2 separate regions of the Homo sapiens genome follow, and region 1 is linked to region 2. The links are contacts of gene promoters, found by promoter capture Hi-C in human tissues and cell types (Jung and others, 2019). All regions are on one chromosome and are shown on one strand. Each heading gives the region's core, a stretch centred on a gene start or on the middle of the fragment in contact. The rest is flanking DNA. Distances are from core to core; before and after follow the strand shown.

Region 1 (4,432 bases), core at 683-3,182, 1.1 Mb after region 2:
GTGATGATGAATTTTTTGTTTGTTTGTTTTAGACCTGCTCTATCGCCCAGGCTGGAGTGCAATGGCGTGATCTCGGCTGACCGCAGTATCTGCCTCCCGGGCACAAACCATCTTCCCACCTCAGCCTCCTGAGTAGCTGGGACTATGGGCACACACGTCCACAGCCAGCTAATGTTTTTGTATTTTTGGTAGAGTTGGGGTTTCGCCATGTTGCCCAGGCTGGTCTCGAATTCCTGTGCCCAAGTGGTCTTCCCACCTCAACCTCCCAAAGTGCTGGGATTACTGGCATAAGCCACTGTACCTGGCTGACAATGAATTTTAAATAAGGATGTTTCTGAGTTTATGTTGTATCTCTCTCTCTCTCTTTTTTTTTTTTTTTTTTTTTTGAGACAGAGTTTCGCTCTTGCTGCCCAGGCTGGAGTGGAGTGCAATGGCGCAATCTCAGCTCACTGCAACCTCCGCCCCTGAGTTCAAGCCTTTCTCCAGCCTCAGCCTGCCGAGTAGCCTGGATTACGGTCGCCTGCCACCATGCCCAGCTAATTTTTTTTGTATTTTTATTAGAGACGGGGTTTCGCCATGCTCACGCCTGTAATCCCAGCACTTTGGGAGGCTGAGGTGGGCAGATCACCTGAAGTCAGGATTTTGAGACCTGCCTGGTCAATATGCTTTATCTCTTTCTGGGACTTTGACATAAGAAGAGATTTCCAAAGGTTGTATTCTGCTAATGTAGTCTGGTATTTGAGAATGAGATATATCAATGCTCACATTTTATAAGGATGACTTCATCCTTGATATGTGCTACCCCAAACATTGCAGTCGCAAGTGCATGCACAGAATAAGGGCCAGTTTTCAGTGACTACCGTATCACCATACGGAACTTCTCATGCTTGAGAGAGCCACTGGTAGCCATCTACCTTTCCTTTCCTTGTCAGTATAAATTTGGGGGATACAAATATAATTTTGTTACATGGATATATTGCATAGTGGTGAAATTAGGGCTTTTAGTGTATCCATCACCAGAATAATGTACATGGTACCCATTAAGTAGTTTCTCATCATCCACCGCCCCCAACCCTTCCAAGTCTCCACTGTCTATCATTCCATACTCTATGTCTATGTGTACACATTATTTAGCTCCCACTTGTAAGTGAGAACATGCGTGTACCCAATTTCTTTTTTCCTTCTTTTTTTTTTTTTTAAGACAGAGTCTTGCTCTGTCATCCAGGCTGGAGTGCACGGGCACGATCTCGGCTTGCTGCAACCCCTGCCTCCCAGATTCAAGCAAACAGATTCAAGCAATTCTCGTGCCTCAGCCTCCCAAGTTGCTAGGATTACAGGCCTGTGCCACCGCACCAGGCTAATTTTTGTATTTTTAGTAGAGACGGGGTTTCACCATGTTGGCAAGGCTGGTCTCAAACTCCTGGTCTTAAGCCATCCACCTGCCTCAGCCTCCCAAAATGCTGGGATTATAAGCATGAGCCCCTGCACCCAGCTGGTGTGTACCAAATTTCTGACTTTAAAGGAAGGGCAGTTATTTGTTCCCTGAAAGTTGAGCACAAAAAGAAGAAATAAGCTTTAGTTTCCAGTGATTAAGGATTTGAAAAATAGTTACTGGTAGTTCAATTTACTTTGTTTTTTAACTATGCCTGTTCATGCTGATCACGTACAGGTTATCTCTATCTTGTCACTGGAATTGGATTGTTTCTCATTGGCTTAATTAAATTTATTGCACAGGAAGAGTCTTCCTGGAACATTTAAGCTATACCTGATTTATTAACTACAGCTCTCTCATTTTCTTATAAATTAATTAAGAGTTTGATCTACCATTCCTCTTCTGAAAAGAAAACAGTGTTTCTCTACCTTTTTGGTAGAAGAGTTACTAAAAAAAAACTAGCTATTATTTGTCTCTTTTTTCAACCTGGCAAAGCACAGTATATAAATATTGTTTGTTTTATCTATAACCAAATTTAATTGCCTTGGAATATTACTTTTTGCCAAGTCTACTGCCAAGTTAATTTTATTAGGGTATAATTAACAGTCGTCAAAGAAAAGCTACTTAATTTATTTCCACAGGAATTCAGAAGAAAAAAAGAATATGGGTTTAAAACCAATTACTTTCCTTTAAAATTGTAGGTAAAATTCAAAGTCGCATATGTTAAAATTTAGAACACAGAAGTAGAAATGATCAAGTTCTGCCAGCTCATTGAATAGACTAACCCTCTTTTCCATGTCCTCTGTACCTCTGTCAGAATGTTTGCTGTCATTTGTATGTATGTGAGCCAGGAACAGTGGGTTGTACAAAACAACTTCAGCATCACCATAAACTTCAGAGAAATCATGTTTCTCACAACAAAGCAGCTCTGTGCATGGCCTTTAGTTGGCTGCCTGGAAAATGACTGCACTCGACAACTGCCAGGTCAATGTAGACGTTCATGTTAATTTTTCAAGTTGGGAAACAACATGCCTATTGTTAGGGGATAGAAACGTGAGAGATTAAGCAATGAGCAACTTTACAAGCGACTAACTGAAGGAAGCTTGATTCAGTAAGAAGGGAGAAATAGTAGCTTCACTTACCATTATTAGTTTATTGCTTCTGCTACTCAGAGAAGCTGGAGGAGAGGAGAAAATAGATCTGGTCGATATTATTTCAGGGCTAGTTGGAAAGAGAATAAATGCACAAAGGAGCTTGCTTGGAGAGATGACCCCTGCATGTGAATGTTAGAAGAGCTATGTCTGCAAGGTATGAAGCTTCATTGGATTTATTTGTATTTTTAAAAAATAGAATATAGTAAAATGACCATTTATAAGGAGTATTTCAGGACACATCATTTGCCAGTTTGAACTAAGTGTTATTAAACTTAATGTTTTAAATAGATATAGTTGAGAGTGCGAATATAAAAAAAATAGGACAGGAAAGATGTTTTTTGTTCTAGCTATTTTATTTCTTATATAATCTTGATACTTAAATTACTTTCTTTTGGATTCAAAACAAAAATAATACTTTTAAAATATTTAGGCTGGGCTTAGTTGCTCATGCCTGCAATCCCAACACTTTGGGAAGCTGAAACAGGAGGATCACTTGAGCTTGGAAGTTTGAGACCAGCCTAAGCAACATAGTGAGACCCCCATCTCTACTAAAAATTTGAAAAATTAGCTGGTTGTGCTGGTGTGCACCTGTAATCCCACCTATTTGGGAGGCTGAGGCTGGAGGATCACTTGAGCCCAGGAGATCAAGGTTGCAATGAGCTATGATCATCCACTGCACTCCAGGCTAGGCTACAGAGTGAAACCCTGTCTCAAAATAAATAAATAAATATTTAGGCTATGTTTTCTAAAATTTTATACATTGTGCTGAATGCTATTTTCCTTGTAATGAAAAGCCAATAAAACATTTCTGTCAATTTTCTTGTTTTCTTTCTTTTTTTAGAGACAGTCTTGTTATGTTGCTCAGGCTGGACTCAAACTCCTGGCCTCAGGCAAGTCTCCTGCTTTGGCCTCCCAAAATGCTGAGATTACAGGCGTGAGCCACAATGCCTGGCCTCTTGTCATTTTTCTAAGGCTTTCCTAACATCCTGGTTTCACCTTTGAATCTACAACCTAGCTTACTTTCTGTGTTTCTTACTTCCCTGTTCTTACTTTCAGTATGAGCAGTAAAAGGTGTAGTCAGAGAAATGTGGCTCACTCTTCAGCTCTGAGTGTCTACCTCTCACCTTGTATTTGTGCAGTTGGTGGCTGGGTATGTGGTGGTAACTGGATGAGTGATGGAGTCCAGAATAATTGCCATCATTTGTTTAATGTCTCCCATGTGGCACGTAATGTACATAGTGTCTCACTAGTCCTCACAATAATTCTGTAAGAAGGGGCACTGTAAAAAGGACATTAGTGGCAATTTAGAGAAGAAGAAAGTGGGCCTTTAAGAGTTTATATAACTCCCCCAAATCACTTAACACATTTAGTTAAGAAGCGGGGTCAGAGGACAGCAGCAATGAAAAACACAAGAATTCCTTTCTGAGATGAAACGGGAGTGAAAGGCATCTCAAAGGTCTGACAATGTAATTCCCAGACCCAAGCCTCCCTGGAAAATAGAAAATGCAAAAGAAGATTAGAGCAGAAGACTAAATGTGGAACAATTTGGGATAAATAAAATCTGAGGGTCCTGGTGAGAAAGCAATTAAGAAAGCTAGAGAAGGTGTCTAGAGCCCCATTTAATTTACATTTCATTGAATAACAGGAGAATGATTATGTGAGACTTGTTAAAACTTGCATTTTGTTGGTAAAGTTTATCCTCTACTTCCCCATTGTGATTTGTAGCAGTAACCCTTAGAAAATTTCAGACCAGCCAATGTTTATTCCAGGGACTGGGTAAAAAGAGAGAAGCCTGTGTTATTTTCTGCATTTAGCTGTGATGAACAGAATCTCTGATCTGAGGCAG
Region 2 (4,515 bases), core at 508-3,007:
TGCACATGCTTCGCACTCCAGAAAGACTCCTTCAAGTTTTGCTGAATTTCAATTGAATAAATTTTTTCTGTGAAGTGGTCTTCAAAAACCTATATTTCTGCCATAGAGTCACTTACTTAACCTGCCCTATTTAAAGGGGCTAATGCCTGATAGAATGTCGCTGCATAACTCCATCTGTGTGTGGTCCCTGCATCCATGACAACCAAAACCCAGATGCAGAAATTGTTCCTAATCACATAGATTACCCTAGAAACCGGAAGGGCCTTGAAGTCAAAAGCATTCAGAGAACATGCTGAACAAATTGAATTTGCAGTTTATCTGGCCAGGGAGGATGGAGAGGGGATGGGCACTTGGTCTGAGTATTTTTTGTTTCTCATTCCAACAGAAATTACTAGATTTACCAAAACAAAGAGAAAAAAATATGATCCAAATTTAATCTGGTTGTGGAAGTGTGAGCAAAATCTACAAGTGGTAGTGTGATAGAGTCAGGCAGAGGAATTGACCATAGATAAGGTGCTCAGGACTCCTAGAGTCAGCTTCTGGTATGTGAGAAAGAAGTGAGAACAGAGCCCATGGCATATGAAGAAGATATTACAGAAAAAAGAAAGCTGCCTTCCACGCAAATCATTTCTTTACAAAGGCTTGTTAACTCCTGCAGTGCCCCAGCTCTAGTGACTAGGGGACCAATAGGTTCATTAATAACAGAATTGGGAGAGAACCTGGCATCTGCTTTGATCGAAGTGTGAGAATTAAGCAAGCCTAAAGTGTAGCAAGAGCAGGGAGGGAACTGAATGAAAGGTCAGTTCTAATCTGTAGGCTTTGGAGAAGCTTTGGGCTCTTGAGAGGGAGTAGAGTACAGAGGCTGAGCGGGGTGCCTGGGCAGGCATCTTATCATTACTTGCGAGTTGTGTGAACTCGGGCAAGTTAAACTTCTCTGTGCTTCTACTTTCTCCCCTGAAAACGAGGATATAATCTCCAAGGATTGTTGTGAGAACTAAATGACTTGGTTGATTCCTGAACAGCACGTTGTCCAGTGCCTAGCACATAGCAATCACTCAGGAAACGTCAGCCTTTATTATGGGCCTAGTGCACAAACTATTCTTACCAGTTATGCGACCTTGAGAACATTGTCTTCTCTGTGCCTTCATTTTCTCACCTGTAAAATGGAATAATAATAATTCTTAGAAGGATTCATGAAACAACGCCTAGTAGGGTGTCTGGCTTAGTTATCCCCCCGACAGTATTTTCTTCTAGTAAGAAGCTGAATGCAGCGGCAGACATCCTGGTTCGGGCCCCAGGAAGCTCAGCCGGGTTTAATGTGGATGAGGGTTTAATGATGTACACGCAGAAGTGTTTTGACAAATGAAGAAGGTCCTCATTCTTGGAACATGTGCCGGTTCTCCGAGGGAACTCCTAAAATGGCATAAGGTCACCTTTTTAAAGGCTGTAAGCTCATGTAGGAAAAGCTGAGCTAGATTCCTAAGGGCAGAGATGTGCTCACATTTCTTTGCATCCCTAGTTCCCAGCACAGTGCAAGGCGCTGCAAACATTTGCTGAACCCAGGGTCTCGTGTCTTGACTGTCCAGCAGAGGCCGCTCTGGGCCGGGGCTCTCGGGACCTGAGGGCTGAGAGAAGGAAGGCCAGGGGGTGGCCCAGTCATCGCCGCGGGGCCCGGGTGGGAGGGGTTTGGCAGCGGCAGGCGCGGCGGCGGCGGCGGAGGCGGAGGCGGCCCCGGGCTCGGGCGGCTGGGATGGAGCAGAAGAGCGCGGAGCACCGGAGGGCACGCAGCTGACGGAGCTGCGCTGCGTTCGCCTCGTTTGCCTCGCGCCCTCCACTGGAGCTGTTCGCGCCTCCCGGCTCCCACCGCAGCCCACCCGGCAGAGGAGTCGCTACCAGCGCCCAGTGCGCTCTGTCAGTCCGCAAACTCCTTGCCGCCCGCCCCGGGCTGGGCACCAAATACCAGGCTACCATGGTCTACAAGACTCTCTTCGCTCTTTGCATCTTAACTGCAGGTAATTGGCGCCATCCTCCCGGAAGGGCAGGTCGCGGGGTGGGCCCCAGTAGCTAGCGCGTGGTCGGGGCTGAAGCTAGGAGATCCGGCAGTGAGTCGCCGCGCGCCTCCGGGTGAGTGCGCAGGTGTGTGCGCACTTAGATTTGGGGTGACGTGCACCTTTGGCGGTCCCGAACCGTACTGAGGGAGGGGACGATGGGGTCCTTCCTGCCGCAGCCCGCGCCCGCACAAACTCCAGCTTTGTAGAACAGGTGGCTGTCTTAGCTGCGTGTTCGAACCCAGAGTGGGCAACACGGACTGCGCCTCAAGGCTTCTCTTTCTTCACCAGGGTTTCGGAGCGCACTCTGCCAAAGTACGGGACCAGACTTCTTGTTGCCGTTGGGCCCTGGAAGGGATGAAAAAGCCGGGGAAGTGGGGGTGGGAGGTTCGCATCTGGGAAGGCTTCAGCAGCGGCTGCGCGCCTGGCGGGGCTGGTTTGCTTTCTCGAGTCTTGGCGGTCTCTGATCTCCGGCGTCCCTTCCTAGTTATGCTTAGGATGATGTGGCACTAACAGCAGCGGCCCGGCCTTGGTCAGGCTCGCAATCGTCACTGGGGGTAGCAAGGCTACCTTCTGCCCCAGAACTCCCCAAAAACGTATCCCATAGAAGAAACTATTAACTTGGCTAAACTAGCATCCTCTCCCCTCCCCCTGCACCACCTCTGAAAGGCTTCGTAGGAGCCACTCTCGGGTTTCGGGACCACAGACGGCGACGACCTCTGGCAGCGGGGATGGGGAAGAGGGGAGCCAGATGACTGAGCTCGGCTTGGCGGGGACCGGGGAGAGATTCAGAAAGACGCTTTGAATCTAGAGTTCAGGTACCTATTTTTTCCAGAAAACGTCTCCCGAAAAGGGACAACTGGCTGTGGATATGGTGCTGCTGGGAAAAGTAGCCCGACTGCGCGGCCACTGGCATTTTCAGTTTAAATGTGACCCAAAGTCACATAGCGCAAACCGATTCTACTCGTGCTTTAGTCTGTATATCCTCCCTCTGAGTTCGTCGGGTTCCTACAGTTGTGGACACGAGTCGTCGCAATCCCTTGAAAAGAAGCTAGCGGTTTTCAGGCAGCTCACAGTGGGTAATGCAGTTATAAGGAAAAGTTTCCCAACTTGAAACTATAGCGTATTTTCTCTACTTAGTGAACGTCCGTCTGAGAAAACCTCTTTCTCGCTGGTATCTCGGCACGGTTTGGAGACGCGTCCGCGGACAGTTCCCGAATACTCGCAGGCGGCTTTGGCTGCCCAGCCTCGGGCTGAGATGAGAGAGCCTAGGTCCGGCAGGTGCAATAGGCAGCGGAGCTCCCGGCTGGCTGCGGGTGGTAATTCCTGTAATCCTCAAAGCAGGAGATGCTTACGTAATGACACGGAAGGTACCTTTACTTCTCCTCACTCAAAAATCTTTTCTTGAGGTTCAGAAACCCTTGAGTGAGTCAGTAGAGAGGTTCGTTTGCAAATTTGATTTAGTGGCTTGTCTTGTTTATTTAATCATTTCCTTTTTTAAACAGCTCTGGCAGTTGTCAAAACCGGGATTAACCCTAACAAACAGTGTATTGTAGCTTCCCCACCCCCACCCCAAGAAGCTCTTTTTTCTTTTTTTTTTTTTTCTTTTTTCTTTTATTCAGCGTTACAGTTTAGCTCCGCTATTCCGGGAGGAATATCACCCTTGACCCACCGCTAGAGCGAGGAGACTGGTGGGCCAGGGACCGGCTGAGCACCACTCCTACCCCCACGCACTAATTAGGATCAGAGCCCAGATGGTCACAGCCTTCCAGCTGTGAGGCTCGAGACTCAGGAAGACATACTGCCTCATTTCCCTAGTTATGCTTCGATATGCATATCCCAAGCTGAAAATGATGAAGCTAATGGACACTGCATTCCCCCTGAAGTTTGTGCCTTTGAAGGAATCTCTTTAAGACGTCAGTTTGTTGTTAGAGCTACTTTGCAATAAATCGTCCGAAAAAATAATATAAAAATTGGCATAAATACCTCATGAGATTCTTTGCACCTTAATTTTAAGGTGTTTTCAGAATGTAAAATATCATTTTTAAAGAAAAAAATAGACGTGTTGGTAAAGAAGAAAGGGATGAGGGCTCTTGAAGTGAAAGTGCACACACATGTGTTTTGGGGGCTTATCCCAGAACTCCCCTAGCAAATCTCTAGTTAGTTTCACCAGGCCTTGTGTCTTTTCTGTTTCCTTCTCATTTTCCTCCTCTAGCCATAGGCTTCAACAATATTTCTGTAAAATTCTTAAGGTGATACTTTCTTGAGCCAGGAACAGCATTAGGCAGGGGCCTGTTTTTTGGCTCAACAAATCCTCTCAAAGTATACATAGTATTTCCTCCAGCACATACAATGGACACTTGCAAATATGTGTGCGTTGTCAACAAGCCAACAAGGGTAGATCTCTACATGTATTCACTCGGGTATATATAAATATATTTATATATTTTTAGACAAAGGGTCTAGC

What was found. The method cuts DNA at HindIII sites, captures the fragments that hold promoters and counts their contacts. A contact is called where the count stands out against the background at its distance.
Region 1: a fragment that was not itself captured here is called in contact with the fragment with the promoter of PARM1 in region 2 in 1 of the 25 tissues and cell types used here (dorsolateral prefrontal cortex).

Annotation. Positions count from the first base shown.
Region 1 is chr4:76,051,535-76,055,966 of GRCh38, forward strand. It overlaps a transcript of ART3 not described here. Among named protein-coding and RNA genes, the nearest start is that of CXCL11, 18 kb to the left of the region's middle. The HindIII fragment of the contact is 3,657 bases long and covers 105-3,761 here.
Region 2 is chr4:74,931,359-74,935,873 of GRCh38, forward strand. It overlaps PARM1 (prostate androgen-regulated mucin-like protein 1), which reads left to right and starts at 1,758. Exons shown (of 4, transcript NM_015393.4): 1 at 1,758-2,012. The coding sequence starts at 1,970. RefSeq lists silencers at 1,592-1,901, 2,482-2,531 and an enhancer at 2,642-2,691. The HindIII fragment of the contact is 8,311 bases long and covers 261-4,515 here.